Linked DNA regions of Homo sapiens: region 1 is linked to region 2. The links are contacts of gene promoters, found by promoter capture Hi-C in blood cells and fetal thymus (Javierre and others, 2016). All regions are on one chromosome and are shown on one strand. The core of a region is centred on a gene start or on the middle of the fragment in contact, and the rest is flanking DNA. Distances in the headings are between cores, read along the strand shown. Region 1 holds the start of BIRC6 (baculoviral IAP repeat containing 6). Region 2 overlaps YPEL5 (yippee like 5).

Region 1 (2,700 bases), core at 130-2,629, 2.2 Mb before region 2:
TCCACTGAGCATACACCTCACGCATCTGAAAGTCCCGTCCCTGGACCAAGGTTTACGCCACCCAGAAGTGCTCTCCTCCAATGGTGAGACTCAGACACACCTTCAAATCCTAATTTTCGGCTCGCTGTGGGAAAACAAGTAGAGACAGCCTGAAGTTACAAACCCAAAGGAATCTATTTCATACACCACAGGTCCTGACTTTCTCGTCACTGGGGCGTAGAAGTTGGAAGCCCCGAGCAAGGGGACCAGGTCTAGTCGTCTTCGGCGTCCGCAGAGTCCTACAGTCGTCGACCAAGCAGTTCAGGCAGCTGGCCCGCCTACTTCCCTCCCCACCCCCACCACGACCCACCCCACCCCCACCCCACCCCCACCCCCACGCTGGGCGCACAGCCCGCGGTCTGTCCCCCGCACTGCGGGACCTGAGAACAGCAGACTGCCGGCTCCTCTCCCACAAGGGAGGGCTTGGTTGCCGGCTCAGACGCTCCCCGCCCCTCGCCTCCGGCCACCAGCCTCTCCGCCCGGGGTCAACCCTTCCAGCCTTTCGCTCTCATCTAACCGGACGCAGGACCGACAGCCTCTCCAGGGCCTACCCGGGCCTCGCTTCCTCCGGTGCCAAGCTCCAAGGTCTCCTCACCTCTCGCGGAGGACCAAGCCAGACCGGACGCTCCAGGCCCGAAAGGCAACTCCCCTCCCACCACTCCCTGACTCGCCGGTCTTTCCTCCCAACTGCAGCCGCTGAAAAAGCCAAGTCCTAAGGTCCCCCTCCATCAGCTTCCGGGCCTCCCTTCACGGCTGGGCCCGAACCCCCAGCCCTGCCCTCTCGCCATCTCGCTTCCCCGAGTCGCGAGGCCGAGCCCCGGGGCTGGACGGCTTCTTTCCCCGGCTTCGCGCCCGCCCGGCGTGCGGAAGACTCACCACTGAGCGCGGAGGCCTGCAGTGTGGCCCCCGAGGTGCCGTCGATGACTTTGATGGTCCCGCGGCTAGTGACGGCCAGGATGGCGTTGAGCGCAGGGTGGTAGGACAGGCTGTGCAGCCCGTCGGCGTCGCAGTGCATGCAGCCGTCCCGCAGCACCAGCCACTCTGAGACCCCGGCCGCCCCCGCCCCCGCCGCCGAGGAGCAGCCGGGGCCCGAGGCCGCCGCAGCCGCAGCCGCCATCTTCCGGCCTGCGCTCAGCACAATCACACTGGGAAGCGGCTCAGTGACAGTCCCGGGAGGTGCAGCACCACCACCAGTCACCATCCGGGGCCAGGGGGCAAGCCGAGCGCGTTAGCCGGAAGTGAAGTCAGGCGCCCGCACGCACGCGGAACGTCGATCGCCCGGCCGGAGGGGCCAAACTCGGAGGGAGGCTGACGGGAGAGGGGGAGAAGCAGGGAGGGAGGCGGGGCCCGGGGCGCGGGCTGGAGGCCGGCGGGTGGAGCATGCGCGGGAGGGCTCGCGCGTGCCACGCGCCGCGGGTCTGGCCAGTTCCGCGTCCGCAGCGTCCCAGTTTCTTCCTGTGAGCCTGGGGAGTGGCGGCTGCCGAGTCCGCCCCGCTCCTCGCGGGGGCAGGGGGAGGGGTTGGCCTCCGTGCATTTCCGCTAGGTGGGGACCCCCGCCCTTGCGACCTGTCCGGTACGCCCGGAGGCCTTTTGCAGCGGTTCCAGCTGCGCCTTGACCGTTCCCGGTACGCACGGTGCAGCTGTTCGGCCGTGGCCGGAAGCGGACCTCTGGGTCTCGGTCACGGCTCTGGTGTGAGAATAAACAATCAGAAGCCTCTCGTTTGGATTGGAAGGAACCGAGCGACCTTCCCAAACCTGTACCTTTTACCACGCCTGCCCTCCCCATTCCCAAGGCTTTCTGTTGAACAGAAGTACCAGATACGAGGTGCTGGAAGCGCATAGTTAAGCTTAGTTTCTCTATCCACATTCCAAACAACCCGAGTTACCGGAATTAATAGGAGTGTGGGTCTGTGTGAGTGTGTGGTGGGGTGTGTTGGAGGTCTAGAAAGGACTAATCAATTTACTAATCATCCCCCCTTGGAGAATTTTTTTAAAACTTTTTATTTTGAAATAGATTACAGTTGAAAATATACTACAGACCTCTGTGGTCTTTCTCTCCAAAAGCCATAACCCCTATCTAACTATGAGAAAACCATTTGACAAACCCAAACTGTAGGACATTATTTTTATAAAATACCTAAACACTACTCAAAGATAGTACAGAGAGATCCAATTTACTCTTTACCCAGTTTCCCCCAATGGTTGCATATTACATAATTCTAGTACAATCTCAAAAGGAGGGATTTGATAGTTGTATGATGTGTGTATAGTTCAATGTCATTTTATCACATGTAGACCTACGCACCATAGTCAAGATGCAGAGTTGTATGTTCTATATGTTTTGTGATCATTAGGTTATTTTGGAAAGAACTAGTTTTCCTTAAAAACCTAATCAAAGATCTGTTGTGAGGATTAAGAATCATTTGTAAAATGTGTAGAAGAGCATCTGACAAGTATATACTACGTGCTCAATAAAAATTATAAAAGTTAATTGCCCTCTCACATTCATGCGAACTTCCTTCAGGAAATCTTCATGGATTACCTGAACTACATCTTAAACTATTAGCCATCAGGCTACATCTGAAACACTTAGAGATTTGACTGTATTCCTCTCTTCTTGGGGGTCCCTAAAATACACTGAAGTTCCTGGGCCTGCCAGAG
Region 2 (2,700 bases), core at 9-2,508:
ACAGAATTTTTTTTTTTAATTACAGAATCTGTAAGAGGGGAAAAAAAAAGATGATTCTCTTCAGAGCCAAAGAGTCTCCAGGAATGCATTATTTTAAAATGCATGATGGATATGATGGACTACATAATTTCCTAGTTTGCTTCCACATCAATAAAACAATTTTCTAAAAAGACTATTGGTTTATTTTACACATACACTATCAAGCGAAATACGGTATCTTGTTCACTTGTCTGGCTCATTGCTGACTGTTTTCCTTAAAAGCTGGGAAGGCTGTGGGTCAATTCAGCTCGCCACCTGTTTCTGTACTGCCCACAAGCTGAGAATGAATTTTGTACTTTTAAATGGTTGGGGGGAGGGGAGAATATTTTCTGACACAAGATATATGACATTCACACTTGAGTGTCAAAGTTTTTAGGAACACAGCCACGCCCATTTGTTTACACTTTACTCCTTCCACTTTACAATGAAGAGGTATGAGGAGCTGCTACAGAAACCTTCTGGCTTGCAAAGTTTAAAATATTTTTTACCTGGCCCTTTACCAAAAAAAAGTTTTCCCTGCTTAAAAACACATTCTGATAGTGAAAGAGCTTTGCATTTAGAAAGCAGTCTTTCCCAGAAAAAATGGAAACTTGGTTGGCATTTGGGATTAAAGCTAGATAGGAGTATTTGAAAAGATCAGTTTAATCCCATTCCCCTTTTCTTTACTGATTTTCTAGCTAAAATCCTTAACTTTCCGTAACCAGTTCAGCATGTTGAAGATCAACTCTAATAAAGATTATAAAAATAGATAATATCTACCAGCTGCTCTCTCCTCTCTCCACCCCCAGGACTTAAACTGTGGAGCTCAGATACTTGAATTCTGGAGATTCCTAGGTTCAAATCTCAGCTCTTCCCCCTTAATAGCTTTGGAAACACTGGGTGAGTTATCCTCTCCTGTTTCATCTGTAAAATGGTGAGAGCAGCAGCCACCTCTGAGTTATGAGAAATTAAGTGGAGATACTGTATTCTGAGAACGGTGCCTAGCACACAGTGAATGCTCAATAAAGGTCAGTAAAACTAGATTATCTTCTTCAACATTCCCCATCCCAACTCACCCTATGACAGATGAGAAAAGCATGGCTCACAAAGGATATGAAACAATAACAATTAACTGGCTTCACTTCCTGCTAATTATGCTAAAGCTAAGCAACCAGGTGATAGAAATCAGAAGCTGGAGGAAAGTTAGAAACCTTCTGAAGCATGTCACAGTTCTGGGTCTTAAAATAGGTACTTGTTGTCCCTATAATTAATAATCCAGTTTGGTTTCAACCCTGGTAAGTGGAATTAGTCAAGGGAGGCACCACTTCCCAGCCCTAAAAATACCAGGGAGGGTAGGTATCTATTCGCATCTCATAGAACCTTCTGACGGAAAAACACCCAGTTCACAGATAAACTTTTCCTTAGTAAATGAAACCATCGCCTCAGGGCATTTCCATAGAATACACACTTCACCAGATCCCCAGTGTTGGACAGACCACAGTGGGTTTTCCATTGCATCAGAAGATGGGACAAAGGCAAGGTACAAAGACTGCTGCAGGGAACTGAGTATGCAGGCATCTAGCGCAGAAAGGGTTAAAGGAACCTGCCCCTTGCAGAGGTGGTTTTGTTTCGCAATGACTCTGCTAAAATGGAATCCCGTGGAAGCCAGCTTTCCTATCTCGTTTTTAATCTCTTCCCTCGCCAAAACAAAGGATAAAAACCCAAATAACTTTTAAGAGTGCTGGGTTGATTACTATAATAATCAGCACTTACTGCTATTGTAATTTCATCAACTCTTTATACTGAGTTGTGACTAAACGCTATTAAAAAATCTACATGGGAAAACAGTTTGATCCATACAATCAACTTTCCAATTTTTGTGCAAAATATATAACAAGCTAAGTTTTCAGTGACACAAGCAAGCTCTGCTTTCCTCTTGCAGTACGTGACCAGTTTACTTTGCTGTGTCAAATGATGTCCTGTTGTGGAATCAGGTCTTCATTTGCAGTACGTTTTAAGGATATATTTTTGTTCTCCCCCCTCAATAATGCCTTATTTTTTCCTGTTTTGTTAGATGACTTTCAAGTTCACTATATTTCAATAACACTTATATTTAAATATTAGAAAATAAGACTAGTCATTTCACTCAGGAAACCTTGTGTGTTAGTGCACAATCTGAGTTGGTCATCCCCCGCTAAACCCTAGCAAGACAATTTCATGGTCTCGTTTGTTGTGATGCAATACCAAAAGCCTCTAACTAGATGGATTGACGTGTAATTTACCTGTCTGGCTTCCCGACTCAAGTGTCAAGTAGCAACTTCAGGTCTAGCTAAGGTTCAGTTCCTGCATTACACTGACATTACTACACAGGATTATCTTAAAACTGACACTGATCTCTATAGTTATTCACCATTAAACCTAGAATGATATTTTAGGCACACATATACCTAGGACTACCTTCATGTCTCGTGGACTGTTTTTCAGAGGGTAGTAGCTGCTTTAATTACTTCTTTTCATAATTTTTGGCCTTATTTCCTTTCACTTTTTTCTAAACCTGTTTATTTTTCTCATTACTTAAATAGAAAACAGAAAAGGGAAATTAGTCTAGAGAAAAGTTCGCAATGATCCAACCAGGTAACATTATTTTCCAAGCTACATATATTTTACTAACGTCTCATAACT

The links. The method cuts DNA at HindIII sites, captures the fragments that hold promoters and counts their contacts. A CHiCAGO score of 5 or more calls a contact.
Region 1: a contact is called between the fragment with the promoter of BIRC6 here and a fragment that was not itself captured in region 2, in 2 of 17 cell types (fetal thymus and non-activated CD4 T cells). The highest score is 6.3, in fetal thymus.

What each region holds. Positions count from the first base shown.
Region 1 is chr2:32,355,702-32,358,401 of GRCh38, reverse strand. It overlaps BIRC6 (baculoviral IAP repeat containing 6), which reads right to left and starts at 1,379. Exons shown (of 74, transcript NM_016252.4): 1 at 916-1,379. The coding sequence starts at 1,240. RefSeq lists enhancers at 169-681, 1,196-1,708 and silencers at 933-1,162, 1,323-1,692. The HindIII fragment of the contact is 6,861 bases long and covers 1-1,888 here.
Region 2 is chr2:30,148,636-30,151,335 of GRCh38, reverse strand. All of the region lies in intron 1 of YPEL5 (yippee like 5), which reads right to left. Among named protein-coding and RNA genes, the nearest start is that of YPEL5, 3.0 kb to the right of the region's middle. The HindIII fragment of the contact is 2,989 bases long and covers 1-2,700 here.